3 separate regions of the Homo sapiens genome follow, and regions 1 and 2 are each linked to region 3. Evidence: promoter capture Hi-C in 16 types of primary human blood cells and fetal thymus (Javierre and others, 2016). All regions are on one chromosome and are shown on one strand. The core of a region is centred on a gene start or on the middle of the fragment in contact, and the rest is flanking DNA. Distances in the headings are between cores, read along the strand shown. Region 1 holds the start of LINC02458 (long intergenic non-protein coding RNA 2458). Region 2 has its middle 22 kb from the start of LINC02458. Region 3 holds the start of RLIG1 (RNA 5'-phosphate and 3'-OH ligase 1).

Region 1 (2,920 bases), core at 275-2,774, 980 kb before region 3:
GCTTGCAAGCCTGTGTGAGGATTTATTTGAGATATATGCCCAGGAATGAAATGGCTGGATCATAGGTTATGTAGATACTTTATCTGCTTAAATAAGAACAGCAGCACCAATGTACACTTTCACATTACTCAACATCTTTACCTATGTGTCTCTGCATGCACAGGTATAAAGTCTGGAAAATTACAGTTTTGGCCTTACTCACACAACTTCCTGAAAATAATTTCTCAACCCTAGTCCCCATACATCATGAAAAGAGCCTTTCCTTATGACAATGTGGACTTGTGCTTCTTTGTCCCACCAGGTCCCTATCTATCTTTCTGCCTCCTCCCTATGCATGAAGCACCTCATCCTCAAATTTGGGGAGATCCTGTCCAATTTAAAAATTCTGCTACTCAATCATACTAAAATAGAAAGCTATGATTGATTTTGATGAGTATGACTATCTATTTGGGGTGGGAAGAAGAGATGAACATGGTTTGTTTTTTAGATGGTAAAAACAACTAAATAGAACACTAAGAGATGTGAGCAAGCACTAGAGTGGTGCCAAAATTGTTCTTCGCTCTGATCCCTCCGTTCAACAGATCTATAAAGCCCTTCCCAGTCTCTCTTCAGATGCCAGGGCTACGGGATTCCACTGGCTGTAGCACCTCATCGCCTGCTGTAGGCTCCATGACTCGTTTCCAGTCTGCCATCTTGTGGTCCTTCCTGTTGCTGCATTCATACTGGTTTACCGAGAGGGCAACAGTGGATTTAGTAGACTTCACGTAGCTTGCGTCGCTGCTCCTGTCTCCGTGTAACTCACAATAAAGAGATTTTGGCATCAACCGTGAGCTTAGGGGTAGAAGGGTATATGTTAGGAGGTGGGAGCAGAATCAATTCTTCAAATCTTAATGATGTAAGTCATAAAGATGTTTCCTCGAGCCACTGTTGATTCATTGTTAATGATTCATTGTTAATGATTCATTACTGCGTTTTCTGCAACACTAAGAAACCGTTGTTTCTACTAACTTTATAAAAAACATATAAGATAAAGAACAAGTGAAAATCCAGATTTTTTTAATGAGGTATGTATACCTTCGTGGAAAATTTGAAGACAGAGACAATGTTTTACTATTTTCATTTTTGCACCTACAGTTTCTAGCATAGGCTTGGCATCTTGTAAATATTCAATAAATGTTTGTTGAATGAGTGCGTTAATTGATTCTCCTACCAGTCTGAGCTATCAGTTATGTCTCTGTGGCTAGATGGACACCATGTCTTCCATCCCTGCCAAGAGTTCAACTGAATTCAAGTTTATAAATGGAAATGTGTGTGTATGAAGGAATTAAAACAATTCAGAAAATATAAAGTTTTAAAAACGACCTTTCCTAGACATAGTCATTGTTAATAACTGGGTATGTATCTTTCTAGACCTTTTCAATATTTCTATGTATTTACATATATAAATATACAAATCTATACACACATATAGATTTATTAAAACATAAAAGGGGTTTCTTTGGGAAATAGTTCTTGAATTTGCTTATTTTTCTTACAGTTAATACGTGTAGGAGATCATTCCATGTCCATATGTAGAAGTCTATAGCATTCTGTTTGGCAGATGGATAGCATTACATAGTATAAATGTCTCATAATGTTAAAATCATTTCCCCTTTAGTGGAAATCTTTGTTCTTACAATGTTTTCCTGTACAATTCTTGGCCATGAAACTTGGTACACAAATGTGTCTTTCTGTAGGTCAGTGTCCATGAAGTGGGGTTGCTGGTCAAAGTATATATTGTATTTAAAATTTTTCACGAATACTCCTAAATTTATTATGAATTGATACAAAGGCCTTGTCTCACGAATTAAGATTAATAAGAAATACGGAAATCATTATTACTTTTTAATTTTTAGGGATGTATTTGACATGATCCTAAATAATGTGGCTGGCTGAACTTCCTGTTTCCTAATCATTTGTATATCTTCTAGATACTTCTATATATGCTGGCTTGAAAAACTGGCACAGAGAAGCATAACTGGGCTTGGTTTTTCTTTTTCTCGTTTCTCCTATGGAGAATTCTAAGCAGCAGGTAGCACCCTGGAGCACTGTGTTTGAGCTCTGAGAGCGGTCCTTCTATGGATTCAACTGGTTCACAAAAGAAAACTTTTGCAGTATCAATATTTGATATATGTTTGACTTCATATTATTACATGACATTTCTTTTTGTCATGAAAAATGAATACTTATTTATTATAGAAAATATTAAAAATGCAGAAAAGTGTTAAAAATATAGAAATAAACTATAGTCTCATAAACCAGTGATAACTAACCTTAACATTTTGGTTTATATCTTACTAGATGTATACTGTTTTTAAACAAAATTGGGATGACACTATATTACCATTTTATAATCTGTTTTTTTCTCTCTACCTAAAAATATATTACAAACTTTCTGCCATATTAATATGGCATCACTTCAATGATTGGTTTAGAGAAAGCATAACCGTATAACACTTTCAGCTTACTCAGAATTTACAACTAGATCTCTGATGCTTCAAACTCATTTAAACACATATGATCTAAGGCAGAGAAATCCTACCTGTATGTTTGTATGTTCTCTGTCACTAATTAGAATAGCTATATCTTTCTGAGTAGTTACTACATACTAAATGTTTTGCAAAGCATGTGACATTATTTCTAATTGTCAAAACTACCTTCAGAAGTAGGTATTATTGTCAAAATTTTGCAGAAGAGGAAACTGAGATTCAAAGAGTTTCAGCAAATTGCTCAAGGACGCACAGTGAGAAAATGGTAGGGTTTAAATTAGAATCCAGGTCTATCTGCTTGTAAAACTCTTGCTTTTTAAAACTCTATCTGCTGTTTTGATATGCATAATATTTTCAAGTATGACTTCTGTTCTAAAAGTCGCTGTCTAATA
Region 2 (3,297 bases), core at 509-3,008, 960 kb before region 3:
ATCTTGTAGGCCATTTAATAAGTGAGACGTGTTATTGAAATTATGCATATTTTGAGACCTTGAAAGCAATAAATTAGTTGTAAGAGTGCAGTCCAAGATGTAACTTCTGAAAGACTAAATTCTTCCGTGCCGCTAAGAACCCCTTTAGCTGGTAGACTGAGTAGAATAAGAAATTAGAGAGGCTGCCCTTTAAACTCTCCTTTCTCATTTATTTCAACTTCAACTCACAATGGCAAAATAATTAGATTTTTGACAGGTATATCTTTAATCTTTGAATATTAATTTCTCATGAGTCATATTGGACAATGATGCTAGACAAAATAGACAGTGAATTTCAGCACTGATATGGAGTGGGCTTGGAGCTAACATAACTAATTTACCACTCTGACATGTTCAGAACCTTTTGAGAGTTTACTCTACACTTGACTTTGGAGGGTGCTCTCTACATTAGCAGTGGTTCCAAGAAGAACCCAAAGGAGTAATGGTTGGTGTTAGAAAGAGGCCTTGTAAACATAGGAATGGGGCTACCCTAATAGAATGATCTTCTCCTTGTCTGATTATACTTTTAATGGTTAAACCCAGTAGATTAAGATAAAAACTGGAAATTGTCAGGAAGAACTTTTTTTTTTTTTTTTTTTTTTTGCTCCAGATACTTCATTTCCATCCACCCTCACTCGCTCCTCCCAATAAGGAGAGAATAACCTGACTATTGATTTGGGGTCTGGAACTGGGCAAGTGAATCTGGGAACTGACACTGCTCCCAGTTGCTCTCAAGATTATGGGCCACATTAATCTTAGTCATGAAAATCTTTTCCCCATGTGTGAAGCTTGTATCGGTCCAGTACTGACTGTGAGTAAGTCAGCCTAATTCCGGAGTTCAACATTATGAAACCCACTTCTCTGCCAGATGTAAGCTACATTTCCTGATACCAGCCTTGTAGGTTATAACAGTAATGTTTTTGTTCTTCATCTGTGAATTCTAGTTTCATTTGAGAGGGAAATATTCCATACTGCTGCTGTTGTCTTTTAAGTGGAACTATCTGCATTTGTATAACCTTCCTGACCTCTCTATATCCACTCACTTAGCACTTGGAGAGGTGAAGTGATTTACCATATGGGTGATTTTGCAAAAAGAAACCAGGCATGTCTTCATCTCTTCTACTTTGGAAGAGGTCTGACAATTACTCTTGACCATGTCATGAAGTTAGTGGTAAAGGCTTTCCCCTCTTATAGGAAAGGTCTGCCCTAACTTACACTATGTATTTTTTTTATTATTTTAGAATATTCAATTCTGTTGTAGAAGATAGGAAATACAAATGGGATTGATGAAACTCATTTAATATGTTTAATTATATATAAGTCAGTAACCTGTAAGATGACAGACATGGATAAAGTAATTAGAGCATATGAGTGCTAAACACAGATAAAAAGTAAAGAAGAATGAAGAGGATCTAAATATTTATAATTCATTAAATAGATATGAGGCACTGAAGCACCTAATACTGATGATATGCATGAAGCAGCAGTAAGTCTAAAATCGGTCATCCATTCTGGCCCTACAAGTTCTCTGCCCAGGAAAAGCAATTAAAAATTTATAGTTGCTTATCAGGTTAATTGCCCCTGGGTCTCTTCAACAGAGCAAGAATATATGTTGGCTCAGCCACCTTTTATCTGGAGACCCCCTTGCCTCAAAATTCAACTCTGGTCCTCACAACCCTATCATCAGGAGGGAAGACTGGTGCCACAGAGACACAGGATTCAGCTAGCGTGGTCCCTTTATCTTGCTTGCATCCTATCCTAACTGTATTAACTTATGCCATATCTTTCCCTTTTCTTCTTACTATGTTTTATATTAATTTAGTAAGCCATGTGATTTGAGCATCTTAACTTGACCAGTAAACCTCTCCATTCTATGACCTCTGGAATAGCTTGCCTCATGGTGTACTCGAAAGCCACCATTTTTAAATGCAATTTCCCACATGCTTAGACTGATTTTGTATTGGTTCAACACTACAAGAGAAGATGGGTTTACTAGAATTTTATATCTCATCCACCAGTAGATGAACAGATAATGTATGATTTATCCCTAGAATGAGTGCAATACAATTATTAAAGCGATTAAAATTTATTTAATGTAACAGGAACAAATGTAAAAAATGCAATATCAAATGTAAAAAACTTAATTACTGAAAGATACACACAATGCAGTCAATTTATATAAATGTTAAAAACCTACGAGTTACTAATTTTGGCTTAGAATCCAGTCTACCCTTCTCTCTTCCAACGAGAGAAGAGCCCATTGCCCAAGATTCAGCAATGTATATGGTTATACTGGCAGATATTATCCAGCCTCCCTTGAAGCTAGGTACAGCCATGAGTAAAATTCTGCCCCATATGGTGTGAATAGAATTATGTGTACAACTTCAATTTTATATCCATAAATGTGAAAGGGGGCTGCACATCCACCCTCCCTCTCTTTTCCCTTTCCAATGGCTAGAATGCAAGAATGCCAGCTTCAACTATGAAGACACCCGAGGTCATGATGCAGCAACAAGAGAGGGAATCTAGATCTTGGCTAATCTTGTGGGTAAAGACATCTGCCCTGAATTGCTAGCCTATCACTGGACTCTATGAGCCATGGAATTTTTGAACCATTATATTTTGGGGTTTCTTTTTTATAGAAGCTTAATATGCATCCTAATTAATATAACACAAAATGATACATTTATTTTCGATTCATATGCAATAAAGTAAAAATTTATGGGATGATGCACACCAGTTAGAGGATCATGGTTCACTCTGTGGAAGGAGAGAGTAAAAGGGATGGGGTAGTGCAAAGGTAGGTGATCTATAACTAGTAAGATGAATGCACAAAGTCATAAAAATCCAGACTCATTTTTTTTCCTTGCTCACTCACTCCATGTCACTTCCTTCCTCAAAGTCACAAGATGTTTGCTGGAATCCAGCCATCACATTCATATTCCAAGGAGAAAGCAATAAAATGGAGGAGAGAAAAAAAATTCATGCCAAATTAAGGTCACTTAAAGAGATTTTATGTAAATCCCACCCAAAAACATCTGCTTACATTTCTGTGTAGTCATGCCCTCTCTACTTTATGTTCCATGTTATAGTTAAAGCGACCCAGTGTTTTATGCATCAATAACTCCTCAAGCCTCAGAATTCAGTTCAGACCTTAAATTGGCAAATGAAGTCCCTCATGATCCAGCTATTATCCCTCCAGCTCCATCTTCTATACCTCCCTGCTTGCAGGCAATGCTCCAGACAGATCAAATGCTT
Region 3 (2,958 bases), core at 77-2,576:
CATTTGTTACAGCTAAAAAAAAAAGCCAATTACTGCTACAAACATTGAGTAATAACTGTGGTATTCTGACGAGGAAAGAACATGGTGATGATCAGTCTGAGTGGCAAGTAAGACCAGTTAGGTGGTGCAATGAGCAGGACATGAAATATTAACTGTAACAGCTGTGACAGCACTAGAAAGCAGGAAAAGATCAGATGCTATAAGGTAAAAAGCATCAAGGTGAATGGAAAACTGGCATGAAATGATTCCAGGGTTCATTCTTTAATTCAACAAATATTTATCCAGTGCCTACCACGTGCCAGGTCCTAGAAGCTGGGACTAAAGATAACAGGGCAATCTTTGCCTTAAACAAGTTTTAGTCCAGAAGACGAGAAAGCCAGTGCCAATGATGAAACTCAAGTGAGGTGGATTTCCAATGGACATGTTGGTTTTGTTTGAAATCAGCAAAGTTGGGAAGCACCCAACTAATCACTGGGGATTCTACTGATCAAAGACTACAACGTTTTATAGTACAATATGAAAAAATTACCCAAATATAGGTTACTCACTAGCATTTACCGAGGGCACACTATGGAAAACACGTTGCTGCAACAGAAAACCTTGAGAACACCAAAGTTAGAATAAATTAAGTAATTACTGGTAATATGAGGTGTGAACTTCAGTGACCTAATTAGGCTACTGTCAACACCGCCACTGGTTCGGACAGAACAGGTAAAGCAAGTCTTCTAATATCCACCCTTTCTTACTGCACTCTTGAAAAGTAGTAAAGCTTGGACTGTGGCAATTACCTGATTAGGGGGTTTCCCCAAAAGGTGCTGACCTGAAAAGGAAGGGACATGCTGTGGATGTGAGTTATCCATTTCCTTGCGAGGACAAGTTTGAATCTCCTGATAAGGAAAATTCTTTCGCAAATTCCCTCCCTCACAACTAAGAAAAGTACAAGAACCTGGAGCTCAGGGCGTACGGAACTCCCACCCCAGACCTCCCCAGGGAAACCTACAGAGGTTCCTGGCCTGCAGGGCAGTTCTAAAGCGCCCAGCCGCCCTCGCCGGGTTCGCACTGAGCCAGCGCCGCGGGGAGGAGCCCACGCGGGCCGCCAAGCCTGCCCGGCGCTCCTCCGTACCTGATGCTCCCTTTTGGAGGAAGGCTCCTCTTTCACCTCCGTCACAAACACACACGGCATTTTCCGCTGCACGGAGCCCAAGCGCTTCATGATGAGCCCAACAAGCAGTGCGAATGGAGGGCGTGCTTTCGAGCGGCGCCCGGTCCAGTCGCGGAGAAGCCCTGAAGCAGTCACCCGCACGGCTCAGGCCACGCACACTCCGCGCCCAGCCACCGCGGCTGCGCCCCAACTACCAAGCCCAGCGAGGGGCGGGAACGCCCGTCCAGAAGCGGCTTCCTGGCCGCGGCGCCTTCTGGGAGTTGTAGTGCAGAAGCTGAGGCGCCTGGTGGGTTCCCACGTGCGTCCTCCGCCCCCCACCCTCGGTTTTAATAACCGTGAAAAAAAAAAAAAAAAGATGCGTTTCCCGAACGTGGGTACTTAGCAATACCTAGTAACTAATGATTTTTTGGGAAATTAAATAAGATCAAATTATAAGCAATGAACATTTCAGATGTCGATTTAACACAGTTCCAATGGAAACTGCTTGCCTGTTATCTTTAGTTCGTGGGGGAAGCACTGTAGAAGTTTAGAAATGGCTAGAGACATCCCCAGATTCCCAAGCAGAATGAAAACTTCCTTTCCGGTAAGACTATCAGAAAACCCTATAATAAAACACCTGGGATCAAAAAAAGTTGTCGTTTGAACTACTCCTTATTGTGCAGCATAGCATGGTCGAAATGATTCTGATGTTCTTTTCGGAGTGAGTGCGAAATTTCAGCCTTAGACTAATCCAAAAGTACAGGAATACCTACAACCAGATTTCATTCTCAAGTTTTTCATAAGAATCTTGTTTAATTAAAGGTGAGCTCCAACAGCCCAAATGGCTTGAGTAATGGTAGTCAATCAACTGCGAGCTAAAAACAGCCTTAACTTACTGCTCAAAAGAATATTTTGAGGGTAAGTGATAAGATGGACAATGACTAAATAAAATAAATACTAAATATTTAGGAATAGTAGCCTTTCCATCTCATTGAATGTAGTAGTTCCTAGCCTGAAGTTGTAGGGGAATTTTGACTTTACTGCCATCCTTTATGGGCTTGGACTAGGCCCAGGTCTCATTTCTTTGTCTTATCTGCATGTACTCAACTGTCCAGCATGTTACTGACTTAGCCCTTGGAAAAATTAAACAACTATATCTCACTTAGAGGTATCTAACTAGTAAGGGGGTTCTCAAAGAATAAAACATCTTCCTTTAAAAAGTTCACAGTTATATTGAATACTGACAGTGAAAAAAAATAAAATTTAAAAAAAGTTCACAGTTTTTTGATTACTGGATTCAGAGGGGAGGGAGGAAGAAAGAGATTTGCCATTTCAAAGTGTTTACTTTCTTTTCTACTATCTTTTTCTCACAGGAAAACACAAAATGTTCTCCCACATCACACCCCGCCTGCATTTATCAAAAAAGAAAACACCTGATGCTGGCTGTGTGCTGTTGGAACCAGAAACTTTTTAGCATATTATAGTCGAGTGCCAGTGACTTCTTTGTTCTTTCAGAGGCATTCTAAAAAGCGGCGTGTTTCACGAATCTCAGAGACAACAACTTTCACAACTATCAACTGTCACCTCCCAAACTGCCACAGAACCTTTTAAGTCCAACATTCTGTCATTTGTGGGAAATACTCATCTTCTAAAACACACTCTACTTATTCTTTGAATAGTAGTTGCAAAGCTAGTCATCTCTCAGGAAGCACTTTCTATTTCCAAAACTTTGGTTTCATCAGTACCTGGAGCAAAGCTTCTGGCAGAAACACAAATCCTCATCAGGGGAGAGGCACAGGATCAACTCACGGTTATAA

What was found. Contacts are between HindIII fragments. The CHiCAGO score rates a contact against its expected background, and 5 or more counts as called.
Region 1: a contact is called between a fragment that was not itself captured here and the fragment with the promoter of RLIG1 in region 3, in 4 of 17 cell types (naive CD4 T cells, monocytes, activated CD4 T cells and 1 more). The highest score is 6.1, in naive CD4 T cells.
Region 2: a fragment that was not itself captured here is called in contact with the fragment with the promoter of RLIG1 in region 3 in 4 of 17 cell types (M0 macrophages, monocytes, M1 macrophages and 1 more); the score reaches 14.8 in M0 macrophages.

Annotation. Positions count from the first base shown.
Region 1 is chr12:89,017,528-89,020,447 of GRCh38, reverse strand. It overlaps LINC02458 (long intergenic non-protein coding RNA 2458), which reads left to right and starts at 756. Exons shown (of 3, transcript NR_038385.1): 1 at 756-895. The HindIII fragment of the contact is 6,702 bases long and covers 1-2,920 here.
Region 2 is chr12:88,996,204-88,999,500 of GRCh38, reverse strand. No RefSeq gene overlaps it. Among named protein-coding and RNA genes, the nearest start is that of LINC02458, 22 kb to the left of the region's middle. The HindIII fragment of the contact is 1,857 bases long and covers 830-2,686 here.
Region 3 is chr12:88,033,904-88,036,861 of GRCh38, reverse strand. RLIG1 (RNA 5'-phosphate and 3'-OH ligase 1) reads right to left here and starts at 1,326. Exons shown (of 7, transcript NM_001009894.3): 1 at 1,124-1,326. The coding sequence starts at 1,213. LOC107984542 (a long non-coding RNA gene) reads left to right here and starts at 1,366. Exons shown (of 3, transcript XR_007063395.1): 1 at 1,366-1,448; 2 at 2,515-2,958. The HindIII fragment of the contact is 2,128 bases long and covers 772-2,899 here.